2 separate regions of the Homo sapiens genome follow, and region 2 is linked to region 1. Evidence: promoter capture Hi-C in human tissues and cell types (Jung and others, 2019). All regions are on one chromosome and are shown on one strand. Each heading gives the region's core, a stretch centred on a gene start or on the middle of the fragment in contact. The rest is flanking DNA. Distances are from core to core; before and after follow the strand shown. Region 1 holds the start of SNAPC3 (small nuclear RNA activating complex polypeptide 3). Region 2 has its middle 200 kb from the start of FREM1.

Region 1 (6,832 bases), core at 285-2,784:
GGAAAGAAAGGAAAGCACGCTCGGAAGAGTCCCAAGCTGTCACTGAGGTCAACTGTGATATTGACCTCGATCCTAGGACTTTACAGGCTGGCTCCTTTCCCATGATTCTTCCCTTAGGGTGGGCTGCCTCCATGCGCAGTGCCCTCCTTACCCTTGGGAAGTGAGCACAGCGCAATATGTATGAAGTTGTATGCGTGCCCATCTGAGGCTTTCTTCCCTTTTCCGATAGAGTCCCCCTGAAAGGTCATACTCCCCGATTTTGTCTCTTAATGCATATGCCCAGGAAGTTGCTTCTCCCTGTCACCTGCATTCAACGAGCACTTTAGTGCAACAGGTGTGGGCCATCAGGAAATGGCCTCTCCCTGGCACCGGCTGCCAATTTATCACTTTTAGAGGCAATGTGATAAATGCCTAAGCATCACCCCACATTCCTAGTGGGTGAGGGAAGAGCCCTCTCCTGCCCTGCTCATGCCTAACTACCTGTAACAAACCTTGTAAACATTAAGCCAGCCACCAAAAGACCATATAATTCCGTTTATATTAAATGTCCAGATTAGTTAAATCTAGAGAGACAAAGTAGGTTCTTGGTTGGCTAGGGCTGGAGGAGTTGGGAGGATCAGGGGTGATAGCTAAAAAGTACAAGTTTCTTCTTTCGAGTGGTAAAAATGCTCTCAAATAGTGGTGATGGTTGCCCAAGCCTGTGAATATACCAAAAATCACTGAACACTTCAAATGGGTGAATTATATGGCATGTGATTACAGTCTAATAAATAAATAGTATGTCCTGCTGTATCCTTCAGGGCCTCTGAGAAATGGAGAGAGCTCCATCTGAAGCCAGACTGAGTTCCGATCCTGCTTCTATTTTCCCCGCAGGTAAATCCTTCCTCAACAGCAACACGGGGTGATACGCCCTATCCGGAAAGGTTGTTGTAATTTTTAAAAACATTAAAAACATACATTAGGGTTAATCATGTAGCGTGTGATACACAGACGCTCTGAAACACTACTGCACACGCACACCAACATGGGGCCTCTGCGGAGCTTGTGAAAGAACCAGATCTGGAGGGCTGGTCGTGTCCCTGGTCTCGGCCCTCGCCCTCCTTGTTTCTTAGGCTCTAAAGCAATCAGGCAGCAGAGCAGTCCTTGAACCCCAGTCAAGAAAAAGCCCTGCACCCCTTAGTCCGAAAGCCGCAAGGAACGGGGCCTAAGCGCCTGGCGAGGCCGCCCTACCGGGCAGAGACAGTTGCTACGTAACTCGGGGACCAGAAACCCAGCCCCACCCGCTGCGGTTAACCGACAGCCGCAACGGTTCCCGCACCGCCCGGGTCGGAGAACAATGCTGCGCCCTGCACGTAGAGCCTCGCGGTGCCGCGCCCTGGGGCGGGCCTGCCCATGGCCTGCCGGGAAATGTAGTTTCTGATGCCCTGCCCGCGCCGCCTCGCCGCTCGCCGGCCGGGCGCCCCAAGCAACTACAACTTCCATCACGCTCTGCGAGGCCTTGATCTGCAGGCTTTTGCAGGGGAAGGAGTGGGGCGAACATGGCTGAAGGAAGCCGAGGTGGCCCTACGTGTAGCGGGGTGGGTGGCAGGCAGGACCCAGTCTCCGGCAGTGGCGGCTGCAACTTTCCAGAGTATGAGCTTCCCGAGCTAAATACGCGCGCTTTCCATGTGGGCGCCTTTGGGGAGCTGTGGCGGGGCCGTCTGCGCGGGGCCGGGGACTTGTCGCTGAGGGAGCCGCCGGCATCCGCTCTGCCTGGGAGCCAGGCAGCTGACTCCGACCGGGAGGATGCCGCGGTGGCCAGGGATCTGGACTGCAGCCTGGAGGCGGCGGCTGAGCTGAGGGCGGTGTGCGGGTGAGTGCGGAGCAAAGGGGCTCTTGCAGCTTGGGGTCAAACAGGGTGCAGCCTTGCTCGTGCGCTCCTCTGGGACTCATCCCTGAGAAGGGCCTGTGGTTTAGACCTGGGCTAGGAGTATTACCCTTTAAAGCTTTCAACCCGCTGGAGCCTTCCTGGGACACCAGGAGAAGTCCTGGGACCCGAATGCACAGTTTCTACGAGTTGGAGCAAAGGGACAAGACAGCTGCATCAAAGACTAGTTTTTCCATTTGCTTATTCTAAGAGTGCTTGTTAATAAAGAAAAGCAATCAGGGCAACAGCGACGTGTACCTGCCATTGACAGACACTTTGACAATGGAGGAACCTGAGTAATGGTGAAGCTGCGGGAGACTTCATCAGAGGAGTGTTAAAACCCCGACTAACTGGTTTCTTTTGGGGACCTTCCGGGTATTCTGTTACTGAAATATTTCTTAAAAGTGCCTTATTTGGGGATGAAAATATAAAAATAACTTTAATCTCTTTCTCCATTTAACAGTACTGGCTGCCTTCATCGGCCTTTTCATTATAAAATATAATCACAGAAATCGTTGTCTTAAGTTCTGGCCTCTCTGAGCCGCCTGCTGGATTTTATCTGACTTCGTAATTCAGTAATGTATTTAGGAAAACAACCCTAACTCGCTGTGAACCAGATGCAGAGTCGACCTTAAAGTATTGCTTTTCCTTTTTGTTTTAGCCTTGATAAACTGAAATGCCTTGAGGACGGTGAGGATCCAGAAGTCATTCCGGAGAATACTGACCTGGTGACTTTGGGGTATGGAGGACTTGGTTTTTATGACCTATTTATTTAAACATTTTTTCAACATTATGTTTTGAAAAGTTGAAAGTGCAGTATTGATTGTTGTCTGTATACCCACCCCTTAAATTCAGCTGTTCTTAATATTTGACCATATTTACTTTAGCCGTGTGTATGGGATGCCTGCTGTGTGTTTTTTCATTTTGCTATCCCCCATTCAGTAAGTTAGACATGATAATTTACCCGTAAATACATAAGCATATAGCTTCTAAAAGTATCATTCTCCTACATAATTATTGTGGTATTATTATACCTAAGAAAACCGTAAATACATAATCTATAATATTCAGTCCATATTCAAACTTGTGTTTATTTTTTAATATTTTTGAATGTTTGTTTATAGAGGTAATCTACTTAGATCTGGGGGGCAACCTAAATACTCTGACAGTGTTTTTCAAACTATTTGTGGTAAAGGACAGTTCTTGTTTTTAAAAATTTTTAATCTTTGACAGATTTATGCTTTGATAAAATACTATAAAAAGAATTACTAGAAAAATGGAATTAAAAAAGACAAACACAATATAAGTTCAAATTTTTAATTAAATTCAATAGACAAAATTATTCAATGATAATGGAAGTTTCTAAATGCTTACTGTCATTTTCTGTACAGATTGGTTAACAAATAGGTCATAGATGAATTCTGGTCTGCCTACCACTCTTTGAGAGGCACTGTTGTATGATAATATAGAGAAATTGTGCATGTAATAGTGAAATTTATAATTTCCAATTTATAGTCCACTTATTTCATACTACCTCAGCTATGTTCTGTCGTTCTTGATCCTACGCTATTATCCCCCTCAAATATTCAGGCAGTCATTTCAACTCTACTTGGGTTTTCTTTCATAATAACTGCTAAATCTGTTCCCCTGGTCCCTACTGCTGACTTTTACAGCAGCAACACCTGGAGCACTGTGCAAGGTTCTTAAGTGTCTTTGATAAGTACAGTCATTTCTCCCACTGATTTATCCATCATGCTGTCGCCTGAGCAAGCCATTTTGCTTAAAAATGGTCTATGGCCCTACATCTCCTATATGGAAAAATTTCAAACTCCTTAGCTAGACATTTGAAGCCTTCCACATATATCCCAAATTTGCCTTTCCAGATTTATTTTCAACCACTTTCTCTTTCAGATGGCTCAGGATGCATGTGGCCTCTCTCCCATCTGAAACATACCACTTCTATGTTATGTTATGTTACGTTATTTTTTTGAGATGCAGTCTCACTCTGTTGCCCAGGCTGGAGTGCAGTGGCGTGATCTCTGCTCACTGCAACTTCTGCCTCCGGGTTCAAGCGATTCTCCTGCCTCAGCCTCCGGAGTAGCTGGGATTACCGGTGCCTGCACCCTCGGCTGCCTAACTTTTTTGCATTTTTTGTAGAGACGGGTTTCACCATGTTGGCCAGGCTGGTTTCAACTCCTGACCTCATGTGATCTGCCCAACTCGTTCTCCCAAAGTGCTAGGATTACATGCGTGAGCCGCCACACCTTGCCCATACCACTTTTTTAAAAGCCCAAAGATTCCTTTCCAGATTACCACAACCCATCTTTCCCTTAGGAAACAGATGCATTTATACTGCCTTAAACTCTTAACATTTCTAAAGTCCTTGAAGGCTCAATGAGAGTCCAAACTCCCATCTGTGTATTGTTCTCAAGCCTACTATACTGCCTTGCTCCAATTGGTGCTCTGTAACTATTGTTGATTGATTAGTTGTATTTGTCTAAAATGCACATCTGATTGTCACTCCCTTGCCTAAAACCTTTTGATGTCCCTTAGGCTGAAGTCCTGAGTCTGTAGTGGCTCACAAAGGCCTCTAAGGAGTGGACCTTGCTGTTTTCATTTTGTTTTGTTTTTGAGATGGAATTTCACTCTTGTTGCCCAGGCCTGAGTGCAATGGTGCGATCCCGGCTCACGGCAACCTCCGCCTCCTAGGTTCAAGTGATTCTCCTGCCTCAGCCTCCCAAGTAGCTGGGATTACAGGCATGTGCCACCACGCTTAATTTTGTATTTTTAGTAGGGACGGAGTTTCTCCATGTTGGTCAGGCTCCATGTTGGCCAACCTCTCGTGATCCACCCACCTCGGCCTCCCAAAGTGTTGGGATTACAGATATGAGCCACCGCACCTGGCCCGACCTTGCTGATTTTTTTTAAGCTTTCTCTCTGCAGTGTTCCAGCCACACTGCACTGTGTTTCAGTTCCTCGAATATGCTCTCTCACTCCAGGCCTTTGCCCAGAACAGTCATTCTTGCTTATCTCCTGACCTTGTTGACTTCTACTCATCCTGCAAGTCTTAGCTAAAGGACTACGGACTCCATTTAGGTCATCTTGTATGCTCATGTAGCACCCTATGCTTCCCTATTGAAATGCTCATCACATCTGTAATATACGTGTTTAATTTTCTGTCTTCTTAGCTACACTTGAAAGTTCCTTAAGTTACATCTGCCACACTCACTGCTATATTACCAATTCCTAGAACTGTGGTGCATAGTAGGGAGCCAACAAATATTTGTAGAATGAGTGGAATAAATGAAACTTTCAGAAGACTCAGGAAGTGATTTTTAGAGATAGACTGAAAAAAGAACGTTGATGATAATCATATTAAAGCAGACTCTTTTTTGCTATAGTTAATAATGTATTCATTGATTTATAGTAATTTTGTTAAGCCATGTTAAATAGTAATTTTAAGACTGCTTAAACATTATTTCCCTTGACTACTTTGCACTACTAGGTCAACTAGATCTCTTTGGTTTCTTCTAGTCCCTCCAAACAGGATTTGTGGGTAGAATTATATATAATCTAATGTAAATCAGTACGGTATTCTTCAACTGGGGTTATTTTGATATACTGTGAAGCTAGTGTATTTAATACATGACCATTGTTAACCTTAATGGTCCTGCCAAAAAAAAATTAGACTTGTGGCAAAAGCCTAAATTTGTATCTCTATGCTTTATCTTTCTCTGAACCTTCCTTTTCCTCACCAATAATTTCACATTATTATATTATAAAAATAAAACATAAGTACATCATTTCTTTATTATGACATAAAATAAATTTCTGGTACTTTTTCTTTCCCACATCAAATGAAAGAGCTCGTTTTATGCATATAAGGGACCAAAGGTAGTTGGTAGATATTGATTCTTCCTTGATACATGTTGCTCCCTTAATCTATAGCAAACTACATAGCTTTGGCAGTTTTGACATTTTTTTTGACTACTTAGTTGGTTTTAATTCCTAGGAATAGGAGAGATAATTGTTAATACATGGGTGCTGCTAAAACTTACTTGTCATTCCAAAAGCTTCAGCAACATCACTTATTTATTTGTTTATTTATTTATTTTTAGACAGAGTCTCACTCACTCTGTTGCCCAGGTTAGAGTGCAGTGGCTCAATCTCTCCTCACTGCAACTTCTGCCTCCTGGGCTCAAGTGATTCTTCTGCCTCAGCCTCCCAAGTAGCTGGGATTACTGGCGTGTGCCACCATGCCTGGCTAATTTTTTATATTTTTAGTAGAGATGGGGTTTCACCATTTTGACCAGGCTAGTCTCAAACTCCTGACCTCAAGTGATCTGCCGGCCTTGCCCCAAAGGGCTGGTATTACAGGCGTGAGCCACGACGCCCAGCCCTTCAGCAACATTACTTTTAATACAATAGAAATTTTAGATTATTCTGCCCATCCCCCTCACTTTTGTGACCAAGAAAGCACTGTTTACAGGTCCAGGATGTACTGTTTAAAGGTTAACAAAAGGAACTTACAGAGTCCTGCAAAAACAAAAAACAAAAGAACCATGAAATTGGAGAACTCAAAACTCCTATTCCACCAAACCAACCACAAATGATTTTTTAAAAAAACTTAAACAGGGTGGAGTGCTTGAGGTCAGGAGTTCAACAGCAGCTTGGCCAATATGGTGAAACCCCACCTCTACTAAAAATACAAACATTAGCTGGGCGTGGTGGCACCCGCCTGTAGTCCCAGCTACTCGGGAGGCTGAGGCAAGAGAATCACTTGAACCCGGGAGGTGGAGGTTGCAGTGAGCTGAGATCGCGCCATTGCACTCCAGCCTGGGTGACACAGCGCAACTCTGTCTCCAAAAAAAAAAAAAAAAAAAAAACTGTCAAACAGCTCTCATATATCTGAAGTTGGCTAGAATG
Region 2 (6,468 bases), core at 1,994-4,493, 310 kb before region 1:
ATTGTAAAATGAAGAAAGGATTCCAGAAAAGGGGTAGAAAGCCTTATGGCAGTTGGTGCACCAGTTCATGCTTCTGCACATTCACAGTATAGTATGGAGAAATTGGGAGGAAATCTTCAAACTGAGGGTCCTTCCTCAGAACAGAAACAAAAGAGCAGACTTTGCACTCAAAGTTCTGGCATGTAGGGGGGCTGTCTGAGAGTCTGGTTTTGCTTGACTTAGAGCAGAGGCAGGATCAGACGCTGCTGAAAACAAAGTCTAGCAGCACATTAGATGTGCAGTTCTACAGGCAGATGCCAGGGGGAGCAAGAGATCAGAAAAGGTTTGAAAGGTGCTTGAACAGATAAGTAGACTGACTGGTGACGGGTTCCACCTGAACAAATCCAGTATGCAGACTGTTAGAGGTGGGTGCTTTTTCAAATGCCCAAATCCCAGCCAAAAAAGAAAAAAATTTACAAGATGTACAAAGAAACACGGAAACATAACCCAATCAAAGGAGCAAACTAAAACTACATAAACCAACCCTAAAGAAATGCAGATGTATGAGTTATTTGACAAACAATTTAAAATAACTGTCATAAAGATACTCAATAAACTAAAAGAGAACAGATAGACAACTAAATGAAATCAGAAAAACAACATATGAACAAAATGTGAATATCAAACAGAGATAGAAGCTATACGAAGAACAAAACAACAATTCAGCAGTTGTATGTCAATAAATTGGATAACCTAAAAGAAATGGATAAATTCCTAGAAACACACACCCTACCTAGACTGAATCATGAAGACATAGAAAATCTGAAGAGATCAGAAACTTGTAAATTATTGAAACAGTAATCAAAAATCTCTCCACAAAGAAAAGCCCAGGACCAGATGACTTCACTGGAGAACTCTACCAAACATTTAAAGAAGAATTCAAGTCAATTTCAAGAGAATTCACATCAATTCTGAAACTCTTCCAAAAAATTAAAGAGGAACACTTCTAAGCTCATTCTATTAGGCTCTGATACCAAAACCAGACAAAGAAATTACAAGAAAAGAAAACTACAAACCAGTATCCCTAATAAATATTGATGTAAAAATCCTCAAGAAAATACTAGCAAACTGTTCAACAGCACATTAAAAGGATTATATGCCATGACCAAGTGGGACTTATTCATGAAAAGCAAGGAGAGTTTTGCATACAAAATTTAATCAATGTAATATACCACAATAACAGAATGGAAGACAAAAATGACATCATCATCTCAATTGATAGAGAAAAAACATTTGACAAGATTCAACACCCTTTCATGATAAAAATCATTCAATAAACCTGGACAGGAAGGAAACTACCTCAACATAAGAAAAGCCATTTATGAGGCCAGGCACAGTGGCTCATGCCTCTAATCCCAATGCTTTGAGAAGCCGAGGCGTGTGGATCACTTGAGGTCAGGAGTTCGAGACCAGCCTGGCCAACATGGTGAAACCCATCTCTACTAAAAATACAAAATTAGCAGGCGTGGTGGTGCACACCTATAGTCCCAGCTACTCAGGGGGCTGAAGCAGGAGAATCACTTGAACCTGGGAGGCAGAGGTTGCAGAGAGCTGAGATCCTGCCACCGTACTCCAGCCTGGTCAACAAAGCAAGACTCTGTCTCAAAAAAATAAAATAATAATAAAAGCCACTTATGAAAAGCCTACAGCTAACATTACACTCAATGGTGAAAGACTGAAAGCTCTTCTTCTAAGATAAGGAAAAAGGCTTAATAACTGCTCTCCCCACTCCTATTCAACATAGTATTGGAAGTCATAGCCAGAACAATTAAACAAGAACAGAACAATTAGGAAAGAAAAAGAAATACAGACGGGTGCAGTGGCTCACGCCTGTAATCCTAGCACTTAGGGAGGCCGAGGCAGGCGGATCACGAGGTCAGGAGTTGGAGACCAGCCTGACCAACATGGTGAAACCCCGTCTCTACTAAAAATACAAAAATTAGCCAGGCGTGGTGGCATATGTCTGTAATCCCAGCTACTCAGGAGGCTGAGGCAGGAGAATTGCTTGAACCCAGGAGGCAGAGGTTGCAGTGAACCGAGATCATGCTATAGTACTCCAGGCTGGGTGACAGAGCGAGACTCTGTCTCAAAAAAAAAAATAGATAAATAAAGAAATACAAGAAATCCAAATTGGAAAGGTGTTAAAATTATCACTGTTCACAGATGACACGATTTTATATGTAAAAAACTCTAAAGATTTCGCACCAAAAGAAACCTTGTTAGAATTAATAAATTCAGTATAAATTGCAGGATACAAAATTGACACAAAAAAACCCATTGTATTTCTATATACTAACAATGGACAATCTGAAAAGGAAATTAAGAAAACGATTCCATTTATAATAATATCAAAAAGAATAAAATGCTTGGGAATAACCTAACCAAGGAAGTGAGAAGCTTATACATTGAAAACTAGAAAATATCACTATTACTAAATGAAATTAAAGTTGACACAAATAAATGGAAAGGCTCCCAGTGTTTGGGGATTGGAAGATTTAATATTGTTAAGATGGACATACTACCCAAAAGCAATCTACAGATTCAAAGCAATTCTTATCAAAAAATACAACAGCATTTTTTGTAGCAATAAAAAAATTCATCTTAAATCATCTTAAAATCAATATGGAATCTCAGGGGATCCCAAAAAGCCAACACAATTTTGAAAAAGGAGGAGATATTTGGAGGACTCATACTTTTGATTTCAAAACATACTACAAAGCTACAGTAATCAAAACAGTGTGATACTGGCATAAAGACAGACAATAGACCAAAAGAATAGGATAGAGAGCCCAGAAATAAATGCTCGTATATACAGTCAAATAATCTTCAACAAGGGTGCCAAGACCACTCAGTGGAGGAAGGACAGTCTCCTCAACAAATGTTGTTGGGAAAATTGAACATCCACATGCAAAAGAATAAAAATGGGCCCTTATCTTACACCATACACAAAACTTAACTCAAAATAGATTGAAGACCTAAATGTAAGACCAAAAATAATACAATTCCTAGAAAAAAAAATCTTCATGATTAGGATTTGCCAATAATTTCTTAGATATGACACTAAAAGCACAGCCAGCAAGAGCAAAATAGGCAAATTGGAATATATCAAAGTTTAAAACTTTTGTTTATCAAAGGACACAATCAACAGAGTGAAAAGGTAACCCACAGAATGGGAGAAAATCATTGGAAATCATAGATCTAATAAGGGGTTAATATCCAGAATATATAAAGAATTCCCACAACTCAGCAACAACAACAACAAAAATACAAATAACCCAATTAAAAAATGGACAGGCCAGGCACAGTGGCTCATGCCTGTAATTTCAACACCTTGGGAGGCTGAGGCAGGCGGGTCGCTTGAGCTCGGGAGTCTGAGACTAGCCCAGGTGACACGGCAAAAAGCCGTCTCTACAAAAAATATAAAAATTAGCTGGGTGTGATGGTGCACACCTATAGTCCCAGCTACTCAGGAGGCTGAAGTGGGAGAATCACTTGAGCACAGGAGGTTGAGGCTGCTGTGGGCCGAGATCACACCACTGCACTCCAGCCTGGGCAACAGAGTGGAACCCTGCCTGAAAAAGAAAAGGTGGGTAGGGGTAAAGGATTTGAATAGACATTTGTCATAAGATGACATACAGATGGTCAACACACATGTGAAAAGATGCTCAGCATCAGGGAAATGCAAATGAAAACTTCAATGAGGAGATCACCTCACACCCATCAGAATGACTACTATTAAAAAAAATAGTAAGCGCTGGCAAGTGCTATGGTTTGAATATTTGTCCTCCAAAACTCATGTTGTAATTTAATCCCCAATGTGGTAGTATTGAGAGGTGGAGCCTTTAAGAGGTTATTGGGTCATGAAGGCTCTGCGTTCATTAGTGGATTAATGGACTAATGGATTAATGGGTTAGCATGGGAATGAGACTAGTGGCTTTATAAGAAGAGGAGGAGAGACTTGAACTAGGATACTCAGCTTCCTTGCCAGGTGATGCCCTGTGCCATCTTGGGACTACAGAGAATCCCCGTCAGCAAGAAGGCTCTCACCAGATGCAGGCTTTTGACTTTGGACATCTCAGCCTCCATAACTCTAAGAAATAAATTCCTTCCAGCCTGGGTGATGGAGCAAGACCCTGCCTCCAGAAAAAAAAAAAAAGGAAAAAGAAATTTCTTTTATCCATGCAGTTTTAGGTATTCTGTTATAAACAACAGAAATCAGACTAAGATAGCAAAACATGGAGAAATTGGAACCCTTGCACATTGCTGATAGAATTGTACAATGATGCAACCACTATACAAAACCATATGGAGATTCCTAAAAAATGTTAAGATAGAACTGCTATATGAGCCAGGAATCCCACTTCTGGGTTTATATGCAAAAGAATTGAAAGTAGGGATAGCCAGGTGCAATGGCTCACACCTATAATCCTAGCACTTGGGAAGGCTGAGGCAGGAGGATCACTTGAGCTCAGGAGCTCAAGGGCAGCCTGGGCAACATAGTGAGACCTCATCTCTACAAAATTTTTAACATTAGCCAGGTATAGTGGTGCATGCCTGTCCCAACTACTGAGGAGGCTGAGGCTGGAGGAAACTCCTTGAGCCTGAGAGGTTGAGGGTGCAGTGAGATATAATCATGCCACCGCACTCCAGCCTGGGCGACAGAGCAAGACCCCATATCAAGAAAAGAAAGGAAGGAAGGAAGGAAGGAAGGGAGGGAAGGAGGGAGGGAGGGACAAGGAAAGGGAAGGGAAGAGTCTCGATGAGATATTTGATGCCCATATCCACAGCAGTACCATTCAGAACAGCCAAGAAGTGGAAGCAACCCAAATGTCCATCAACTGATGAACGAATAAACAAAACATAGTATATACCTACAATGAAATATTATTCAGCCTTAAAAAAGGGAAGTGGTGTCACATGCTACAACATGAACGAACCTTGTGGACATTATGCTAAGTGAAATAAGCCAACAACAAAAAGACAAATAGTATATGATTTTACTTACATAAGGTACTTAGAGTAGTCAAATTTATAGAAGCAGAAAGTAGAATGGTGGTTAACAGAAGCTAAGAGGAGGAGGAAAAAGAGTTATTTAATGGGTATAGAGTTCAGATTTGTAAGATAAAAAAGTTCTGGAGATCTGTTTCACAATAATATGAATATATTTAACACTACTGAACTGAACATTGTTTAAATTGTTAAGATGGTAAAGTATATGTTATGTATTTTTTTTACCACAATAGAAAAAAATTCTGTGGAGACCTTCAAGAACCTAATGAAAGTTATGCCCCTAACCTTGCCAGAAAAATACATAGACATTGTATATAATTTCAGGGAGTCAAAGGACATCCACTGGGAGAGATGCATAGGTAAGAACTGCTAGGCTAGGCTAAGCTTTATACTTGAAAGATAAGAAAAATAAGGAACAGAGAAGGCAAATTATTTTCTCCAAGATCTCATTGCTCAACAGTAACAAAGCTTGCTTTAGACCCCGGGTATTCTGATTCATGATCTGGTGCCTTTTCTACCGCTGCATGTTGCTTCTTATATTGGGGGCTATATAACCACTAAAAATTGGGCAAAAAGTCGAACTGAAATTCATTTGCAACAAAGGCCTCAGCTGACCCTATGAGGAGCTCTGGAGCTGAGAAGGCCAATCATAGTTGTCTGAAGTTGGAGAGGGGCTAGAAAGTGGGATCAGGAGTCTGGTCCTTCTTTCTTACCCATTAGCCAGTCAATAAATGCAGCTGCTCAGAAGGCATGTGACCTTGGGCCAGGAAGATCTCTTCAGGACCTCAGTTGAGACCCATCAGTCATCAATACTCCCAGCAGGACAGTGGGATGTATACCTGGATCCTGGGGAAGGGGGAATTTGGGCAAGGCAGGATTACTTCCAATACAGTGGGTATGGGAACACTTGCAACAAGCCTTCTCTTCCTTTTCAAATAACCTCAACATTTTAAAGTCATATTTTCCTCTTGTTTCTTCATGCTTCTTGAAGAACTAAGGACAACCCATAGATTATCAAGAGCAGAAAGAATGCAGCTATGATGACTCAAGCTTATCTGCGAGGCATCTGAGGACTCCTCTAAACACTGTAATGACAATTGACCTTGACAAAATTGGGGAGTCTGTTTCCGAAAATAGTCTCTGGGGGATCCCAAGAGTAATGGGATGAAATTGATCGAGCAATGCACTGCTTCGCTTTATAGGCTTTCCATTTGTCACACAAATTATAATGAATACTTATTGCTTGATTTACATTTCGGCCTTCACACTCTTTGCAGCTCCTGCCATGTTTACATGCACCATCTGGAAGAACTAATGAGTCAAGAAGCACCAGAAATTATAATTTGCTCTGACTAAACCTAGAAGATTTTTACTGGCAATAAAATGATTTTGCTTTTTATTTCCCCTGGAATTGCAAGG

Evidence for each region. Contacts are between HindIII fragments. The study calls those that stand out against the background at their distance.
Region 2: a contact is called between a fragment that was not itself captured here and the fragment with the promoter of SNAPC3 in region 1, in 1 of the 25 tissues and cell types used here (H1 embryonic stem cells).

The regions. Positions count from the first base shown.
Region 1 is chr9:15,421,342-15,428,173 of GRCh38, forward strand. SNAPC3 (small nuclear RNA activating complex polypeptide 3) reads left to right here and starts at 1,535. Exons shown (of 9, transcript NM_001039697.2): 1 at 1,535-1,852; 2 at 2,568-2,645. The coding sequence starts at 1,539. RefSeq lists a silencer at 1,262-1,551 and an enhancer at 1,892-2,011. The HindIII fragment of the contact is 4,082 bases long and covers 1-3,410 here.
Region 2 is chr9:15,104,712-15,111,179 of GRCh38, forward strand. No RefSeq gene overlaps it. Among named protein-coding and RNA genes, the nearest start is that of FREM1, 200 kb to the left of the region's middle. The HindIII fragment of the contact is 4,463 bases long and covers 1,013-5,475 here.